Linked DNA regions of Homo sapiens: region 1 is linked to region 2. Evidence: promoter capture Hi-C in 16 types of primary human blood cells and fetal thymus (Javierre and others, 2016). All regions are on one chromosome and are shown on one strand. The core of a region is centred on a gene start or on the middle of the fragment in contact, and the rest is flanking DNA. Distances in the headings are between cores, read along the strand shown.

Region 1 (4,794 bases), core at 122-2,621, 1.8 Mb before region 2:
TGTTTCATCAATTAAATACAAACTGTTTTCATAATACTCTATATTTTGAGAAGTGTTAAGAGTGAAAATTAGAGTTCCATACTTATAAAATTGCCCCCAGAGAAATCAGTATTTTCTTTTGCAACCACTTTAAAGGATATTTAGAATGTATGTTGTAACATGCCTAACTTCATCCTGTGTCATCCCTAAGTATCGTTGTATTATTAGATCTCCTCAGTAGGAAACATAAAACTGAATGTTAAAAATAATTTTTTACTTAAGATCACAAAATTTACTAATTTTAACCTTTTTGCTTGCCTCTGGATGGTCCATCTTACCAAGCTAAACAATTATTTATTTTTAGCTTGGATTTTTGTATTAATTTAGTAAAGTTTTTACTGAAAATATATATTTAAATAGTCTATATTAATAGCAGACTAATAGAGATTTTCGAGTGAGTGGTTTACTCTTCCAAGTTCTGTAGGGCAAAATGCATAGAGTTCATATTACTAATAATGAATTTGTTGAATGAATAGTTAGATGTATTAGGACAGTTTTAAAATTAATTTGTGACATTATGTGGTTTTCTTAAAAGACTAATTATTCTTAATTGCACTTGAAGCTTATGTAATTCTGCTGAATTGAAATGAGAATATGAACCAAACATTAAGACTTATTTTTCTATAAGTTATTTTCTCTAGAAAATGTGATACTTTGCTTTGGTTGAGGATTTGCCTGCTTTATCCCCAAGCTGTATTCTTAAGTTTTCTATAATCAACTATAGATCTCCTTGAAGACTATGAAAGTACATTAATGGGTTACTTCCATACATAATACAGGTTGTTGTCTAACAAAATCTTTATAGGAATTAAAGTAATATAAATTAATGCATTAACTTTAATGTACAATCTTAATATATTCTAATCTTTGCCAGTGCAGCCTACATGAAATTTCATATCTCTTTATACTTGTCTAATATGGACTTTTAAATGCTTCCATTCTCATCTTCAAAGGGCAGTAAATTTCTGTCACATAGTATTTATTCAATATATTATCTTTTTATTGGTAACCTTATATCTTTTTGATCTTTGTACAGTGATTCATCTTTTTTATTATAATTGTGACTCATAAAATCTGTATTTGAACTCACGTAACACCTTTATTTTGTAGAAAAGATGACTCATTTTGAATAAATTATGTTAACTTGATTCTACTATGAAGTATAGTCTTATACTATGCTGTAAACACATGTCCCTAGAAAAGTTTTTGATGGTTCACTTTTATTCATTCAAAAGACTGCAGATGGGCGCTCTCATTGTAAAATTTTCACTCATTTTGATAATAATCTTATATTCAGGTTCTTGGTAGTTTTCTGGATATGATTTTATTCTATTAGATCACCAACTGATAGAAATTTCCATATAATGAGCTGTCACATCTTAGCATTTACAAAAGATCTGGACATTTCATCCAGTCTGACAACTTATTTCACTGTGGTGGAGAAGTCTTTGTTTTTCAGCTTCAGACTTCCATTGCTAAATAATAGTTTTTTATTTGAAATAAACATGTTGCCATTTATCCCTACACTTTATATGTATGAATAATCTTGACTTTTAAATTAGTTTAAAAATCGGTTAAAAGTTAAAAAACTAAAAATGTGATTTGGAGGACATCAGAATAATGATATATTTCTGATATGTATTTGTGTACATACTTAAAGAGAAAGATGCATGTTAAAACTTTCACAAAACACTTGTACTTCCTCTGTTTAAGGCTCTGAGCTAGAAGTAGTAGGATTCTGAATAGGGCAAGCCTATATTGGACTCCATCCAAAGGTTTGTATATATTGAAGTATCAAAAGAGCCTTCATCTTTTCATCTTTCATGAATGGTTTTACCTCTAAAATGGTCCCATTACACAGACCTAAGAATAGAATTTGAACGACATGTCATTTTGTTTTTGTTTTTTTATGAAAATCTGTAGCTTTCTTGGCCTTTTGAAATGGTAACTGGGTAGAGCATTTCAGTGTATTATTAAAAACTTGATAACTTAGAGCAAAATAGACCCGTTACTCTAGAAATCTTATTTTTGTGACAATTCCATATGTAGAGCTTAATCGTGTAATTTTTGTGATGTTGCTGGTTTGCCCCTTTGAAGCTTGACCTCAGAGATGATGTGGTGAAAATTACAATCGATTGGAACAAGCTCCAGAGCCTCTCGGCATTCCAGCCTGCATTGCTCTTTAGTGCACTTGAACAACACATTTTATATTTACAGGTAAATTTCTTGTTAGAAATGATAACCCGATATTGAAAATAGAAATTGATTGTGGTTAAGTTAGTTGGAGTATTTGACAGTTCTAAACACTATATTAATAGTGTTGCTAATAAAACGTTATTTACATCCGGATTTAATCTAAATCTGTTAATTTCAGTAGTGATCAGGACAGTTAAGGGAATATAGCCCAAAAGACCAATGTGGGTATGAGTGAATGAATGCAATTCTATTCAATTCTAGACCTGCACTGAAAATTCAATACAGTTCCATCTATGGTGGGTTATAATTAAGCAATAAGACACGGCAGGTGTGTGTCATGCTATGATAATGATTCCATGCCTTGGGTGAGTTTGGAGGCTCATGGAGTGCTTTCAGTGGTTCAAGAAGGGGCATTATCCCAGCATGACACATCCTGGAGTGTCTATTGCAATTAAACAGTTTCAGCATAGTTTTTAAAAAGAAAGTAATTTCTATGACATTAATGTCTCATCTTAGTAAGTAGCCAGTCACTATTTTATCATTTCTTTTCCTTAACAGTTTGAAATAATTCATTCTTTATATTAGAAGTTAATATTGAATTGGTATTTATAATAGTGTTGTTATATTTTTAAATATTTCATGTTAATAACTGAACAGTATTATGACCTTGCTGGTTTCTAATTGAACATCTTTGCAATTATAATTGATGTAAGTTTGCAGTTTATCTCTAATCAAAGTGTAAAATGTGAAGTGTCAAAAAGATAAGTGGAAAAACTGGATTGGTCAGTTTACTGTGATTAAGGTGTTATAAGATTTCAAAAGAGTAGTATAGCGAACAATGGAAGCAAAATTGTAGGTATGAAAAAAATAATTGGAACGTTATTAGTGTTAGTGTGTTTTGACTAATGGAATAGGCATTAATTTTCAGCCCTCCATTCATTGACTTTGTGGGAAATTTTAACTGTTTCATGTTAAAAGTAATAGTTAACCCTGTTTTTAAAGGGCAGAGCAGTGAGCTCTAGAACTCAAATGAGACCTCATTGTGGGGAGTGGGGGAGGGGAACAGTAAATGAGTAATATAGTTTAAATTCTACAACAGGGGTTTTCCCCCTGTAGTATAGTGATAGGCCTCTGCCTGTTTTCAGCTATAGATCTTTTTTTTTTCTTGTTCGTTTTCTTTTTTAAAATTTAATTTTATGACCAAAAGATATCTTGCCATGTCAGGAAAAGTCTGAGTGTTCACTCAGCCTAACACCTATATATTTCATGTCTATGCTTCCTCATTCACATTGGCCAACTGCAGTTTCAAGTGGAGAATCTCCAGTGATACAGTGATAATGCAGGGCTTTGCTGAGTGAGAGCACTAGCTCTCGTGTTAAGGAGGAAAAATACTAAGCCTTAGTGTTCTGAGGAGGCATTTGAATGACATGTTAATTAAGTGGCATTGGTGCCAGAGGCTGAAGGCTTTGATTTGGCACAAAATAAAAGATGAGTGACAGAATGATTCTCTCAAAGAAAATTTTAAATTTCCTTAGGTTTTCTTTTCTTTTTTCTTTTCTTTTTTCCTCTCTCCTTTTTTAAAAAACAAATTTATAGCAAATGATAATGGTTACAATAGCAGAGAATAGTGAGTACTTATATGTGGTCAGATCTATGTGTCCTGGTATACCAACTTTTTATATTTATTAACTGATATTAAGTATTTCATTTACTTAGCAGAAATTTATGTAAATATATTAAGTGTGTAATTAATTTTGGTCAGATTGAACCTCAGCAGATGGAATTGTGTTGTTCTCAGCCTTTTTTAGCAAAACTTCAGTCTCCGATTAAAGAGGAGAATACAACTGCTGTTGAAGAGATAGGAAGAACAGAAATGGGGAACAAAAATGAAGTAAATGACAAATTTTCCATTGGCGACCTACAAGAGGAAGAAAAGCACAAAGAAAGTGATTTAAGAGATGTGAAAAAGACACAGATCCATTTTGATCCAGAAGTAGTTCAGATAAAGGCTGGAAAAGCAGAAGTAAGAAGGTTTTTTGGCGGGGGCGAGAGGGTATTATTTTAAAAAATCTTATGTTTACACTGTTAAAACTTGTTGTTTGTAGATTGACAGACGAATATCTGCATTTATTGAAAGAAAGCAAGCTGAAATCAATGAAAACAACGTCAGGGAATTTTGCAATGTTATTGATTGTAATCAAGGTAACTACCTGGAAATTAATTTTCATAGGGTTTTAAGCACAATTTTTATAGTTGCTCTAATCTTTTATTTATTTTTTAAATGAATAGCTTTTAGAACACAATTCAATTTATTTCATGGATTTAGTTAGTAATTAAGACAGTAGAGTTTCCTTCTGCTTAATAATAGACTATATTGCAAACTGGTTTTCATTTTGGTTACACAAAGTAAATGCTAACATTAAAAAGTGTTTATCACAGGTGAAGATTATTTTAAAGTTCCTTTAGGAAATGAAGGTGAGGTACGAGTGAGAAGGTTGATCTATCTCACTAGTAAAAGGAACTGAGCTCTATGAATTTCAAACCTATACATGTACTGTG
Region 2 (4,524 bases), core at 282-2,781:
AAATGGTAGAAAAATTAGAAAAAGATAGTGGAAAAATCCAACCACGCAACCTTAACTTTAAACTAGGAATGACAATAATGTGTCTAATGTTCATTCACACTAGAAAGGCCGATAATGTTTGTAATATAACTACTGGCGATAGTATCCTATTTGTATGCCAACTTTCATCTCAAGTATTCTGCTTTTCTTTCCCCACAGACAAACAAGTGTTGTTCTTTACAGCAGACCTCTTTCCCTCTACATACCAATCTATCCACTCGCATAACTACTAAGTGGCTCAATGGCCTATGTCTCATGCTTAATTGGCTGAGCTAGGCGCGGAATCCGGGAAACCACAACAGACTGTACTCTGCTCCTGTATTTCAGGAATAACTGTCACTAACCTGCTTCTGTCCGATTCCACCTTCTATGAAGTACACACAGAGGAGCAGTTCATTCTTTTGTAAAGGGATTGGTGGACTTTGTTCGAGATGCCATTTCAAAAGAAATGAGAAAAAAGAAAAACTAAGACCTGCACTGTAAAGCATAATACAGGAGTAGATTTATTACAGCTACTCCACATTTTAGAGAGTGCCACAGTGTCTCGGTAGGAGGCAGGAACCCGAGTTCCTGGTTCAGAAACAGGGTTAGAAACAGTCTCCCGATGGAGCTCAAGTGGCTGTCATCTGCCTGTTCTCCTCAGGTATCGAGTGGGATCAGTTGAGGGCTGAGCAAAAGTGGGGACTGGGAAGATGACGAGAAAAGATAACTTTTCGTAGATTGTTGAGGCCGCAGTCAGACTGAGGAGTGAACAGTGTGAAGGAGAGGTTGAGAGCCTCATGGTGTGGAAGGCATAAGGGTTAGAGGCGAGGTTGGAGGGATGTGGGTGCTGGTGTCTGAGGACTTATTGGATTTCGGGCTGTGTGTCCCTCAGCGTCTAGATTCCTGCTTCGTAGGTGATGAGACGCTGCATGTAGCATGTTCACCTCAGAGACTGTCACTTATGAGGGTGCCCATCATTATTATTTTTGGTGACAAGGTAGCTGCTATTTTCCTGTAAGCAGAAGCTGCGGAAGAAAATGGTGGGATTGGCCGGGAGCGGTGGCTCACGCCTGTAATCCCAGCATTTTGGAAGGTCGAGGTGGGCGGATCACCTGAGGTCCGGAGTTCGAGACCAGCCTCAACATGGAGAAACCCCCGTCTCTACTAAAAATACAAAATTAGCCGGGCGTGGTGGTGTATGCCTGTAATCCCAGCTACTCGGGAGGCTGCGGTAGGAGAATTGCTTGAACCTGGGAGGCGGAGGTTGCGGTGAGCCGAGATCGCGCCATTGCACTCCAGCCTGGGCAACAAGAGCGAAACTCCGTCTCCAAAAAACAAAACAAAACAAAAATGGTGGGATTAAGACCCGCCCCCGTCCCGTCCCCGCCCCTTTTCGCTCCTGCTCCGCCCCTTCCCCGCCTTCTACCTGCCTCCCTCGGTGCTGTCGGTCTGCGCGGGCGCGCAAGGGGGACTGGGACGTTCAGGCGGAAGTGGCGTCAGGGGCGCTTTAGGGACTGGACTTGCAGTGTAAACAGAGACGCTGCAAATTGCTTGTGGACGGTGTAGGCCGCTGCAGGCCACCATGAACCGGCTTCCGGATGACTACGACCCCTACGCGGTTGAAGAGCCTAGCGACGAGGAGCCGGCTTTGAGCAGGTGGGCTCCCGCCCCACCCTGGCCCCCGAGGATTTGGGTCGAGGCCTGGCTTTGGTCGCCTCCATTCGTTGCGCCTGCCGAGCCTACGCAGACCCTAGCGGCTCGGGAGCCTGTCGTGCCTGTTACTTGTGCGAAGCCAAAGGGCTTTCCTGATGGGGTCGCGCAGTCCCGGGGGGAGGCGGTGCCGATGTCGCCTGTAGGAAGAGGGATATTCCGGAATCACGGGGGACCGCGTGTAAATCTTCAAAAGCAATGAGATCGAAACCTGTCTCTACACCTTAGTAGCAGAGTGACGGAAGGCAAGTCAGTTATCCTCGATTACTCACCTGTAAAATTGAACTATAATAACATAATTGTATAACCTATATAACATAGTATAACACACTATGTTTGTTGTGAGGCTCACAGGACTTAATGTGAAGTGTCCATCTTGAAGACTAAACTGCCATAAACAGAAATAAGGGAATATTGAACAGCCTTTTTTATTTTTATTTTTTGACAGGGACTGTTGTATGCTCGCTCTGAGCTACAGAGATAAATCATAAGGTCCTTGTCTTCCAGAGGCTTATAGTATAATAAGGGTAATAAGATAAAGTATATATTTCTTGGCAGAGCATTGTAGAGAATATTGACCTGAGATAGGCACAGAAGAAGGTTCGTGGGATTTCCAGAAGGGTGGGCTTTATTCTACCAGGGAAACTTGAAGCTGTTTTGCCGAGATATTTCCACACAAATTTAGTTATTTCTTAAGCTGTCAGCAGATCCTATTCTTAAACTTTAAAACATTCATTCTGCCTAAAGAAGCTTTCTGTAAAGCCATGCTTTCATTAACAACTTTGGCTGGGTGTGGTGGCCCATGCCTGTAATCCCAGGACTTTGGGAGTCTGAGGCGAGAGAATCTCTTAAGCCTGGTAGTAAAGGAACAGCCTGGGCAACATAGTGAGACCTCATTTCTTAAAAAAAAAAAAAATCAAAAGAACAATGTTTCCTCATATTGTCATGGGGAGACATTGGATGCATGGGAAATCAGACTGCTGTTAAGATTTCTTTTGTTGGGAGTGAGGATAGATACCAGGATTCCCTGTGAAAAAGAGTTTCAGTTAATGGGTCCTGTCTGTGAAAGGAGGTATGTATATATGTATGTCTCAATTATTTATTTATTTATTTATTTATTTTGAGACAGAGTCTCACTCTGTCAGCCAGGCTGGAGTGCACTGGTGCAATCTTGGCTCACTGTAGCCTCCACCTCCTGGGTTCCAGCAATTCTCCTGCCTCAGCCTCCTGGGTAGCTGGGATTACAGGCATGCGCTACCACACCTGGCTTATTTTTTGTATTTTTCGTAGAGATGGGTTTTCACCACGTTGGCCAGGCTGGTCTTGAACTCCTGACCTTAGGCAATCTGCCTGCGTCGGGCTCCCAAAGTGCTAGGATTACAGGCCTGAGCCACGGAGCCAGGACTGTTGTATCATTTTTTTAAGGAAGCTTTATAATTCTGTGACAGTTGCCACTGGTAAGGTAACTGTAAAGATAAATATTATAAAAACAAAACAATGTTATCAGACAGTATTGCCTGTTGTAGGCTCTGAGCCAAATGGTTATTATTTTAAAAAGGGAGATTAGTGTTAGAGAGGTGTCTGTCAGTATTTAATTTTACACTGTTTATAAACTAATACATTGTAGCCTGTTAACTGTTTCACGGTAGCTGACCGAAGACATGAGACTCCTGGGTCAAAGATAAGACTACACATAGCACAGCAAGCAGCATGAGCATCATGTTTGTGTGGCTTGCTCTTGCTTGTCAACCCTACAGGTATTACGCTGAGGGTCCTAGAAGAATGCTGCACATTCAGTGGGTTGGCATCGTGGCTAAAGACTACTTGAGCTTGGAGAATCCACCTCTTTCATAGAAGACAGTAAATACATCTGCTCTTTGTCCTGGAAGGAGACATTATCTCATTCCTCAAGGTTGTTGTTCGCTGCAAACACAATCCTGAGAAATGGCTGGAGTGAACAGTGGTCAGAACCTTGCATTCTTGGCATACTTAACTTGCATATCTAGGGTCCATGATGTATGACTGCCTTTCTCAGCAGTGCTGAAAACTGAGACTTTGGTTGAGATAATGACAAGGATTGAAGAAAATTTGTAGAAAAAATAGCTCTCACTTTGTGATTCAGTTTTTAAAAATTAAACATTTTATTTTGAAGTTTTCGTAGATTCACATTCAGTTATAAGAAATAATACAGGTCTGGTGCAGTGGCTCACATCTGTAATCCCAGCACTTTGGAAGGCCAAGGCAGGAGAATCACTTGAGCTCAAGAGTTCAAGACCAGCCTGAGCAACATGATGAAATCATGTCTTTACTGAAAATACAAAAAATTAGCTGGTATGGTGGTGCATATCTGTGGTCCCAGCTACTCAGGAGGGTGAGGCGGTTGGTTGGCTTGAGCCTGGGAGGCGGAAGTTTCAGTGAGCCAAGATGGCACCATTGCACTCCAGCCTGGGCAACACAGGGAGACCCCCATCTCAAAAAATAAAAAATAATAAAAAAAAAAGAAATAATACAGAGAGATCCTGTGTACTCTTTCCCCAGTTTCCTCCAGTGTTAACATACTACAAAACTATAGTGCAGTATCACAACCAGGATATCTATCTATCTATATATCTATCTATGTATTTTTTGAGACGGATTCTGAATCCTGTAATCCCAGCTACTTGGGAGACTGAGGCAGGAGAATCGCTTGAGCCCAGGAGGTGGAGGTTGCGGTGAGCAGAAATCATGCCACTGTACTACAGCCTGGGCGACAAGAGCGAGACTCTGTTTCAAAAGAAACAAACAAACAAACAA

What was found. Contacts are between HindIII fragments. The CHiCAGO score rates a contact against its expected background, and 5 or more counts as called.
Region 1: a fragment that was not itself captured here is called in contact with the fragment with the promoter of EAPP in region 2 in 1 of 17 cell types (activated CD4 T cells); the score reaches 6.3 in activated CD4 T cells.

The regions. Positions count from the first base shown.
Region 1 is chr14:36,314,155-36,318,948 of GRCh38, reverse strand. It overlaps MBIP (MAP3K12 binding inhibitory protein 1), which reads left to right. Exons shown (of 9, transcript NM_016586.3): 2 at 2,137-2,256; 3 at 4,034-4,258; 4 at 4,341-4,437. Among named protein-coding and RNA genes, the nearest start is that of MBIP, 4.1 kb to the left of the region's middle. The HindIII fragment of the contact is 1,535 bases long and covers 604-2,138 here.
Region 2 is chr14:34,536,708-34,541,231 of GRCh38, reverse strand. It overlaps EAPP (E2F associated phosphoprotein), which reads left to right and starts at 1,531. Exons shown (of 6, transcript NM_018453.4): 1 at 1,531-1,677. The coding sequence starts at 1,604. It overlaps LOC105370447 (a long non-coding RNA gene), which reads right to left and starts at 1,483. Exons shown (of 2, transcript XR_943739.1): 1 at 1,448-1,483; 2 at 1-1,046. RefSeq lists silencers at 1,354-1,453, 3,395-3,689 and enhancers at 1,594-1,753, 1,404-2,328. The HindIII fragment of the contact is 15,759 bases long and covers 1-2,483 here.